3 separate regions of the Homo sapiens genome follow, and all the other regions are linked to region 1. The links are contacts of gene promoters, found by promoter capture Hi-C in blood cells and fetal thymus (Javierre and others, 2016). All regions are on one chromosome and are shown on one strand. Each heading gives the region's core, a stretch centred on a gene start or on the middle of the fragment in contact. The rest is flanking DNA. Distances are from core to core; before and after follow the strand shown.

The links. The method cuts DNA at HindIII sites, captures the fragments that hold promoters and counts their contacts. A CHiCAGO score of 5 or more calls a contact.
Region 2: a contact is called between a fragment that was not itself captured here and the fragment with the promoter of XAB2 in region 1, in 1 of 17 cell types (naive B cells). The highest score is 5.3, in naive B cells.
Region 3: a contact is called between a fragment that was not itself captured here and the fragment with the promoter of XAB2 in region 1, in 2 of 17 cell types (M0 macrophages and M1 macrophages). The highest score is 6.5, in M0 macrophages.

Annotation. Positions count from the first base shown.
Region 1 is chr19:7,627,336-7,630,794 of GRCh38, forward strand. It overlaps XAB2 (XPA binding protein 2), which reads right to left and starts at 2,210. Exons shown (of 19, transcript NM_020196.3): 1 at 2,142-2,210; 2 at 815-963; 3 at 393-516; 4 at 1-105. The coding sequence starts at 2,192. PET100 (PET100 cytochrome c oxidase chaperone) reads left to right here and starts at 2,458. Exons shown (of 4, transcript NM_001171155.2): 1 at 2,458-2,525; 2 at 3,238-3,324. The coding sequence starts at 2,499. It also overlaps a transcript of STXBP2 not described here. RefSeq lists enhancers at 2,122-2,241, 2,502-2,551. The HindIII fragment of the contact is 14,766 bases long and covers 1-3,459 here.
Region 2 is chr19:7,941,104-7,944,562 of GRCh38, forward strand. It overlaps TIMM44 (translocase of inner mitochondrial membrane 44), which reads right to left and starts at 2,563. Exons shown (of 13, transcript NM_006351.4): 1 at 2,504-2,563; 2 at 1-94. The coding sequence starts at 2,548. RefSeq lists enhancers at 1,584-2,127, 2,128-2,670, 2,297-2,666, 2,671-3,214, 3,215-3,459 and a silencer at 2,697-2,766. The HindIII fragment of the contact is 1,655 bases long and covers 730-2,384 here.
Region 3 is chr19:7,358,729-7,362,187 of GRCh38, forward strand. All of the region lies in intron 1 of ARHGEF18 (Rho/Rac guanine nucleotide exchange factor 18), which reads left to right. Among named protein-coding and RNA genes, the nearest start is that of ARHGEF18, 12 kb to the left of the region's middle. The HindIII fragment of the contact is 1,009 bases long and covers 1,121-2,129 here.

The DNA.
Region 1 (3,459 bases), core at 960-3,459:
CGTGATGGGCAGTGCCCGGAGGGCACGGTCGAAGGTGCGGCGGGTGTGTGTGACGCGCCCCTGGTCCATGAGGAACTGGCAGTAATCTAGCCACAGACGAGGCATCTGGGGGTGTGGGGAGAGGCGGCTGGGGCTAAGCCACGGACTCCATGGCCTGGCCACAGACACTCGATGTCCTGTGGCTGAGCCACACCTGGGGCCACCACATAAATGCGGCGGGACCCAGAAACCCCCAGCTCCAGGACTGAGTCCAGCCCAACTTCCCATGCAAAGAAGCAACAGGAATCCAAGCCCCCATCCCTAACATGCTGAGCCCAGCCCCTGTCCCCGCCCCACCCACCACCATGGACTGAGCTCCACTTCCCGATTCATCCCCTCGCCGAGCCCCAAACCTTGTGCATGAACACAAAGGCCCTCTCATGACAGTTGTTGACATCTTCATAGGCAGGGTCGGTCACACAGCGATGCTTCACCTGTGCCCGACGCGCCTTCAGGTATCGGTACCAGAGTTTGTAGCTGGGGAATAGGAGGGGACAGATGCTGATCGGTCAGCTTTATGGACACCCCCAGAACCATTTGCCCTGCCCCAGTTGGCAAATGTGGGAAGAAGGGGTGTGGGAGGGGTGACATGTCTCAGCAATGACAGGGACAGACTGGGACATCAGAGAAGGTGTGCTGACCCATCAAGGGATGTACAGGTCAGTGATGAAACACGAAGCAATCACCCGGGACCCGGGACCCACTTGGCAGTTTTGTTATAACTGGACCAGGTGGGGTGGGGGCTGGTGGGCAGGGCAGCTGGAGCCATTCCCACCTGCAGGGCAGCAGCTTGAGTGCCCGCTCGTATAGCTGATTGAGCCTGGGCTTCGGGGCGCCCTGTTTGAACTCGATGTAGCGAAGCCAGCATTTGACAGAGAATTGGTTCCGCATGATTTCCTCCTCATAGGGGAGGTCCTCTTCCTCCTGCCAGGGCCAGGGAATGGGAAGAAGAGAGGCCTACCCTCAGAGCCTGTGTGCAGCACCATCCCACTGCTGGGGCTCAGGTCCAAACTCCGGACTTTTACCTAGATCCCACCACCCACCAAGGAAGTCAGGTCACCAGATGCCCAGGCACCAAACCAGATGCCCGACACCAAGACAGTGGCCCAGACCTTTACCCCTCAGAATTCAACTACCCAAAATCGAACCCAAATCATCAGACTTCTCAGTCATTAGGGCTCTGGGCCAGGAATGAGTCCGCATCACCACTCGCTTTCTGCCCCAGATGGTCAGACTCCTTAGATACCAAGGCCCTGGCCCAGATGCCAGTCCTGGACACCAGACCCCACTTCTTCAAAACGTGCCTCTTCCCAGACACCAGGCCTTTGGCCCCTCAGACTCCCACTGTCACCATCTGACCCATCTCCACCCCAGGCCCAGATGACCAGATCTTTACCCCAGCCACCAGGGCTCTCAGGTCCAGATTCCAAGCCACTAGCCCCGCCCCCAGGATCCCACTAGCCAGCGTCTAGCTCAACTCTGCCCCAGAAATTAAAAGCTAGGCCTTTATCTCACAGGAGGAGTTATACACCAGAAGCCAAGCCTTTAACTCTGCACACCAAGAATCTGGTGAAGATGTCACGCCTCTACTCCAGAGAGTAAGTATTTCACTGGCCATCGCCTGACAAGCTCCACATCACCAGGGTTCTTCTAGCCTGGCCACCACCCCAGAAACTGTCATGCTGCAGTCCAGGCCTAGAGACCGCTATCCAGAAAACCAAGCCTTCATCCCAGAAACCAGAACCCTGGCCTCGTAAGCAAGCCTTTACTTCAGACACCGATCTTCACCTCTCAAGGTTCAGTTATGCGATCTTCCTCCTCTCCCATTCCCTGCACGCCCCCATTTCCGCCCCTGGTTCGGGAGGCTAGACGCTTCCCTTCGACAGTGGTTTTCTACTCAGACCCGAAGATACAACACCATATTTTTACTCCTGGACAGTTCGGTGCGGACATGACGATCCGGTCTCTGGCCCATTAGGGTTCCCAGACCTTGGCCTGGCAGTTTCGGCCTAAATCTCCTTGCCGACCCAGCCTCGATCCCCTGCGGCGTCCAGGTCCCAATGCCCCAACGCAGGCCACCCCCGGCTCCTCTGTGGACTCACGAAGACAAGGTCCGGCCGCTCGGGCCGCGAGAGTCGCGCCATCACCACCATTTTTCTGGATGCCCAGGTACAGGAGAGAGTCGCGCGCTTATGACGTCTACCACTGACGGCCCGCCCCTCCGAGCCAGACCCGTTTTCTATTGGTTAAATCATTTTTGACGGACAGGCCCACGTTATTGACTTCTTTTCGACGACGCCAGCGACCGGAAGCAGAATAGAGGCGCCAGAAGATGCGCCATCAGGATACACATTGGCCAATCAGCTTCAGCAATGGAGCGTGCAAAACACCAGTGAGCTTCTGTCTTGCTGGAGGGTCGGCTTTGGGCGGAACTGGCTTTGTTGACCGGGAGAAACGAGATGGGGGTGAAGCTGGAGATATTTCGGGTCAGTGGACACAGGAGTGGGTTGGGAGGCTGGGCAGGGGATCTTCCTGGATCTGAAGATGAGGTTGGAAATGGGGGGACTTCAAAGGAAGAGGGAGCTCCAAGGAGAAAGCTCTTAAGATTTGAGAGGAACCTTTCTGGTTGGAAATCCAGGAGAGGGGACGCTGGGCTGGGGGGGTTCTCGGATTTGGGCTTCTGGGTTTGGGGGCTGTGAGAGGGCTGGTCCGAGGAAGGACCTCAGAGAGGGGTGAGCTGAGAAGGGGGCTCTAAAGAAGGAAGACTTAAGATCCTGGGGGAGCTCTCGGGCTCGTGGTGGGTGGGTGTCTATGACAGGGAGATTCCTAGACTTCGAGAAGTGGAGTTGAAGAGTGACGCCTCCTGGGTTTGGGGGTGCTCCCGGGATCTTAAGTGGGGATGGGTAATGAGGTCTCGAGGAGATGCTTTTGATTGTAGCTGGGGCGTCTGTGTGTCTGTCTGTGTTTGAGAGGAAGACTCCAGCTCAGAGGGAACTTTCAGGAATGAGGCCTCCTGGATTATAGGAGTTAGGTTTTAGGGTGCGAGGTTTCTGTACCCTTGGTGGGAGTTCTGGGATTCTTGGGTCGGCCGTAACGAGGCGCTTCTGGACTCTGCAGTAGGATGGGTCCCCCAGGCTCTGAGGAGCCTCTGCACATTGCTTGGGGGGAGCTCACCTCACCCACCCTCTGCCATTCCAGATGATAATCTACCTCACTTTCCCTGTGGCTATGTTCTGGGTTTCCAATCAGGCCGAGTGGTTTGAGGACGATGTCATACAGCGCAAGGTGGGCATAAGAGGAGTGTTTGAGGGTTCATTCCAGGGGTGGGAGAGGGTGTGGGGCAGCAGTCTGCTGGGGACTAATGTCTGCCTCCCATAAGCCGACCCTGCCCTGATGTGGGGCTCTGGAGGCCTTTGGCTC
Region 2 (3,459 bases), core at 307-2,806, 310 kb after region 1:
GTGGCAGCTCTCCGCCCGGCCGGCGCATCTGATAGGTCGACCCATGGGGTAGGTTGTGGCTGGAAAGAAATTGGATTCCACTGCCGAGGCATCTCTAATTGGGGGGAGAGAAGAGAAAGATCCATTCTAACAAGAGGTTGACTGAGAAGTAAGCAGACCACACACAAAACAGCAGGGTCACCTGCAACTCACTGGCCATTTTTTTTTTTTTTTTGAGACGGAGTCTCAGGCTAGAGTGCAGTGCTGCGATCTCAGCTCCCTGCAACCTATGCCTCCTGGGTTCAAGCGATTCTCCTGCCTCAGTCTCCCGAGTAGCTGGAATTACAGGTATGCGCCATCACATCCGGCTAATATTTGTATTTTTAGGAGAGAAGCGGTTTTGCCATGTTGGCCAGGCTGGTCTCGAACTCCTGACCTCAGGTGATCCACCCCTCCCCCGGTTTTCCAAAGTGCTGGGATTACAGGCATGAGCCACTGCACCTGGCCTCACTGGCCAATTTGTATCTTATGCCTGATGCATGCCGGGCACTCTGTAATCTTCCCAAAGTCTGAGAAGCAAGCAGAAGCTGGTGGAAAGAGAAAATGCTGTGTCTGTACCTCCAGGGCCTACATCTATCCTCGTGCCCCTGAAACTGGGGGAAAACGGACAGGTCCCAGGAAATGCCAACCCATGGGGGGAAGAAGGCTAAATGTACAATTTAATCCCTTAGTCTGAAAGTAGGCACTCTAAGCTTCTATGCTAGTGGCAAGCAGTCTTCTCTTGCGAGCCCACCCCATTTCTGCCAGCCTCCAAAGATGAGAGAACTGGATTTTTCAGACACAAACATCGATAATGTGTTGCCCCAGGGACAACTCTGGAATAAACCTACAATGTCCTCCTCAAGGGTTGAGCTATAAACAGAGTAATTTAGGGGAGTCGCTCTGGGCAAAGACTGGGCTGATCTCATGTAAAAGGCACTTGCTGGCTGGGCGCGGTGGCTCACGCCAGTAATCCCAACACGTTGGGAGGCTGAGGTGGGAGGATCACCCGGTCAGGAGTTCGAGATCAGCCTGGCCAACATGGTGAAATCCCGTCTCTACCAAAAATACAAAAATTAGCCGGGCGTGGTGGCACACACCTGTAGTCCCACACACCTGTAGTATTGCTTAAACCCGGGAGGTGGAGGGTGCAGTGAGCCGAGATCTTGCCTTAAGTTCTGTGCAGGCACTGAGCTGGTGGCTCATGCCTGTAATCCCGATACTTTGGGAGGCTGAGGCGGAAGGATCGTTTGAGCTCAGGAGTTTGAGACCAGCCTGGGCAACATAGCTAGACCCTGCCTCCATAAAAAATTGGGGGAAAAAAAAAAAGCTCTGTGCAGGTCCTGTTCAGCTCGGCACCCTGTCACCCAGCACAGAACCTGGCGTGTTGATGTCAAAAGACCAGGTACAACTTCTCCACCATTTCCACATTTCCTGGGCCGTTTTTCTCTCTGTTCTCTGCCTCCTACCTCTGAGAACCCTATGCAACATCCCAAACTTACACAGGTGCCTACTATCTCCTGTATTTACTTGAGGATAACTTTTTTTTTTTTTTTTGAGACGGAGTCTCCCTCTGTTGCCCAGGCTGGAGTAAAGTGGCAGGATCTCGGCTCACTGCAATCTCCGCCTGCCGGGTTCAAGTGATTCTCCTGCCTCAGCCTCCCAAGTAGTTGGGATTACAGGAGCGCGCCACCATGCCCGGCTAATTTTTTTGTATTTTTAGTACAGATGGGGTTTTAGTAGAGATGGGATTTCACCATGTGGGCCAGTGGATCTCGAACTCCTGACCTCAGGTGATCCACCTGAGGCTGAGGCAGGAGAATCGCTTGAACCCGGAGGCAGAAGGAGGCAGAAGTTGCAGTGAGCCGAGATCGCGCCATTGCACTCCAGACTGGGCGACAAGAGCGAAACTCTGTCTCAAAAAAAAAAAAAAAAGAGAAAAAAGAAAAAACGAAGAGCACGAGCAATATGAAGTACTACTTTCTGAGTGCGCCTTACACGTCTTGACTGCCACTGCCCTGTGGACCCAAGAGCCTGCTAGGGCGCGAACCACCTCTCGCACATCCACAATGAACGTTAGAAGAAACGAGACAAGAAATGCTCTCGGTAGAGAACTTGGCATTTAACCGCGAGCTGTGAATTTCACGTTTTTTTGCCTTCCCCTCTACTTTTTTCCACGGGACGCCGCCGCCCCGGCTACCATTCTCTCTCCTGTATACGTGGAGTCTGATCAGAGGGCGAAGGGTGATCAGCTCCCTCCCAGGTCCCGCGCATCGCCGCCCCCTGCCCGGTAAGCTCGGTCCCCGCCCTCAGGCCACGCTCTGTGCCCCCTGTCCTGGCCTCTGCTACCCAAAGATCTAACCCCAAGCTTTCTAAGGAGCCCAAGCAAGGGTCGCGAAGGCCAAGGGTCTGAGAAGAAAGCCTTGGTGGCCGAAGGCCCAGAAGACCCCTAAGCTCGCCCTGCCAGCGCCGCACCGCCGCTCACCCGTGGACAGCGGCACCAGCCACTCCGCAGGGCCGCCGCCGCCATGTTGGAGAATCGTGTGACCTTCTCGCGGCGCGGCCCGGTTGCGTCATCCGCCGCTTCGGCCTAGAGCCGCGCAAGCCTGAGAAAAGCCGCTCCAGGAGCGGGGTTTCGGGTAGGGAGAGCCCTCCGATTGGGTCCGTCATAGGGCGGGGCATTAAAAGGGTAGGGAATGCCTAGAGAGCTTGACCTCTGATAGGGCAGTGTTTTGGAAGGACGGGGCCCGTGACTGGATGTGGCCCGGGGGAGGGCACTCCTGGGAGGGTCAGATCTGTGATTGGGCGCGACTACGAGGGGGCGGAGCCCAGGGGCGTGTATTCCGTCACTTGCGGTGATTCGGCTACAGAACGCGCCGGGCGCTGGTGGCAGGTGGTACAGGCACGTGGATCCACCGACCACAAGGACGGATTCGATTGGATTCTGATTGACCGGCGGACCAGCTCCAGAGTAATTGTCTATGGCTGCCCCTGCAATGACTGATTGATTGACAATGGCTGAGAGACCAGCAAGTGAGTCGCTCCGAGAAAGCGAAGGAGCCCACTCTTGTGCGGCGCTTTGGGAAGACGCCTGTTGGTTTTGACCCCGAATAAGAAGAGGAAGCTGAGAGCGGGCTGACTGTGGTCCAGTCCTACTTCGATTCAGTGTGAACTGACACTCTGATCTGAAGACGCTCAGGCCTTTGTCATTTCAGCACCCCAGATGCTATTTTCCATTCGAAGAATGCCGCCACCAGGTGGCGGTATTTTAACATGGCCATGCAATCCGGGTATGAGGAGGAGGGTTGGTCCCCTGGGAGAGCTAATGTATGTTGCTGTTGCTGTTTGTCTTATTGGATCCTTTTTTTTTTTTATAGAGCCAGAGGCTTGCTCTGTCACCCAGGCTAGAGTGCAGTGTCGTAATCTAGCTCACTGCAGCCT
Region 3 (3,459 bases), core at 375-2,874, 270 kb before region 1:
GGTATGGCCTTGGTAAAGTCAGTGCACCTCTCTAAACCTCAGTTTCCCTTTCTATAAAATGAGGACTCAGAGTTGCTGTGAGTATAGAAGAGTGAAAAGTACATGATGGGCTTAGCACTAAGCCAGACATATAGAAAGTGATTGATACAAGATTTTACCTTTTGGAGCTTGGGGATGTAAAAGTGGATCAGATATAGTCACTGCCCTCACAGACCTCATGCTCTAGAGCATGGATCAGCAAACCTTTTCTATAAAGAGCTAGGCAGAGCAATCCAAAGTCCTATGGCTAAAATTGTCTGCAGAGGATCTGAGACAGAGCCCTCAGTTGCCAGGCAGGAAGAGTGGTAGGAACAGCACAGAGATACCAGGAGAATGGTGAGTTGGGTGTGCATGTGTGTGACAGGGAGGTAAGAGGACAGGCTGAGGAGGGCTCTGAATGTCATTCTAAGGGGACTGGAGTCTATAGGGGTGGGGATCAGTAGAAGGGGAGTGACCATCAGAGGGTTATATCAAAAGGACACACCAACTCCAGGACAGAAGATGGACTACAGGGGAGAGACTGGTAGCTGAGGATCAGTGACAAATGTGATTGGCAATCGTTTGGGGCAATTGTGGTTGGTAATTGACAGAGCTCAGTCTATGACACTGGGATTAGGGCTTAGCTCATAATATTGGAATCAGGACACAGCCTATGACATCAGGATTGGAGCTCAGTCTATGATGCCAGATCAAGATTCAGTCTATGACACCAGGATTGGGGCTCAGTCTATGATACCAGGATAAGAGCTAAGACTATGACACCAGGATTAGGGCTTAGCCTATGACACTAGGATCAGGGATCAATATATGACACCAGGATAAAGGCTTAGTCTATGACACTAGGAGGGGGGTTCATTCTATGATACAAGAATGAATGCTCAACCAATGACAGCCAGATGAAGTTCAGTCTGTGATATCAGGATCAAGGCTCAGTATATGACACCAGGATCATGGCTCAGTCTGTGACACAAAGATTGGAGTTCAATCTGTAAAACTAGGATCAGAGTTGAGTCAGTCATTGGGAACTAGGATCACAGTTGAGTTCATCATCAGGTCAAGCTCAACCTGTTCCTCGGTCAGAAGCTTCCCTATAAAAACAAAACTCAGCCAGGCACAGTGGCTCATGCCTGTAATCCCAGCACTTTGGGAGGCCGAGGTGGGAGGATCATATGAGACCAGGAGTTCGAGACTAGCCTAGCCAACATGGTGAAACCCCATTTCAACTAAAAATGCAAAAATTAGCTGGACATGGTGGTACACATCGGTGGTCCCAGCTACTCAGAAGTCTGAGACAGGAGAATCGCTTGTACCCAGGAGGTGGAGACTGCAGTGAGCCAAGATGGAACCACTCCAGCCTGGGTGACAGAGCAAGACTCTCTTGAAACAAAACAACAACAACAACAACAACAACAAAACATGCACAATCACACAACCCTGGCATTTCTTTTCTTTTCTTTTTTCATTCTTTTCCTTTTTTTTTTTCTTTGAGACAGAGTCTCACTCTGTCACCCAGGCTGGAGTGCAATGGCACAATCTCAGTTCACTGCATCCTGCCCTTCCCTGGCTGAAGAGATTCCCATGTGTCAGCCTCCCTAGTAGCTGGAATTATAAGCACATGCCACCATGCCCAGCTAATGTTTGTATTTTCAGTAGAGACTAGGTTTCGCCATGTTGGTCAGGCTGGTCTCAAACTCCTCACCTCAAGTGATCCGCCTTCCTCGGCCTCCCAAAGTGCTGGGATTACATGTGTGAGCCACTGGGCCCGGCCAACCCTGGCCTTTCACCTTTGATCTTTGGATCCCAGACCTTCAGGGTTCACAGATACAGGGCATGAGGTCCTGCAGGCTACAGGAGGCCTCAGGCCTCCACAAGGACCCTGTCCAGTGAAGCAAGCCAACCCTGCAGGCTCTCCTCCAGCCCTAAGGGGACTTGGCTGAGGAATGGGACTGCCTTTCCCCTCCCAAGCTCCCACCAACCTCCAGGACCCTCCCCCACATCTGGCTTTCCTCCTCCTTCACAGCCTGCTTGTTTCGTTTCTGTGAGTCATAGATGCTGCTTCGGCTTCTGGGTGGGGAAGAGAACAGATGCAAAGCTTAACAACAGCAGCTGAACAGAGTCCCTCCAACCAGCCCGGGAGGGCAACCTGGAAAGCAGTGATGGTGGAAACCCTGGCATTGCTCGTTACTGTCCAGCCACTCATCTGTGAATACAGGTGGCATCAGGGGGCAAATTTACCTTGAAGCAATGGAAACTGAAGCTTCAGGCCCCATGTGTACCTGCCCCATCCAAAGCTCTGCAAGAGGCTCCAACAAAAAACTTTTTAGGAACAGCTTTATTGAGCTACCATATACTTCACCCATTTAAAGCATACAATTCAGTGGTTTTAGGCCAGGTGCAATGGCTCATGCCTGTAATCCCAGCACTTTGGGAGGCCAAGGCGGGGGGATTGCCTGAGCTCAGGAGTTCCGGACCAGCCTGGCCAACGTAGCAAGACCCCCGTCTCTACTAAAAATAAAAAAAATTAGCCAGGTGTGGTGGTGCATACGTGTAATCCCAGCTACTCAACAGGCTGAGGCAGGAGAATCACTCAAATCCCGGAGGTGGAGGTTGCAGTGAGCCAAGATGGCGCCACTGCACTCCAGCCTGGGCAACAGAGTGAGGCTCTATCTCAAAAAAGAGACTGCATAACAGCGGTTCCTCAAAAAGCTAAGCATAGATTAGCATGTACTCCAGCAATTCCCTTCCTAGGTAACGACCCAAGACAATGGAAAACACACATCCGTGCAATTGCGTACATCTGTATGCAATTGTTCATGGCAGCGTGATTTGAAATAACCAAATGGTGAAAACGACCCAAATGTCCATCAACAGATCAATGGATACACGAAATGTGGTATCTCCATGCAATTGAATATTATTCAGCCCTAAAACAAATAAAGCACTGGCCGGGCACCGTGGCTCACACCTGTAATCCCTACACTTTGGGAGGCTGAGGCATGCAGATCACCTGAGGTCAGGAGTTCTAGACTAGCCTGGCCAACATGGTGAAACCCCAACTCTATTAATCACACAAAATTAGCCAGGTGCAGTGGTGTGCACCTGTAATCCCAGCTACTCAGGAGGCTGAGGCAGGAGAATGGCTTGAACTCGGGAGGCGGAGGTTGTGGTGAGCTGAGATCACGCCACTGCACTCCAGCTTGGGGGCAACAGAGCAAGACTCTGTGGAAGAAGAAGAAGAAGAAGAAGAAGGAGAAGGAGAAGGAGAAGGAGAAGGAGAAGGAGAAGGAGAAGGAGAAGGAGAAGGAGAAGGAGAAGGAGAAGGAGAAGGAGAAGGAGAAGGAGAAGGAGAAGGAGAAGGAGAAGGAGAAGGAGAAGGAGAAGGAGAAGGAGGAGAAGAAGGAGAAGAAGGAGAAGAAGGAG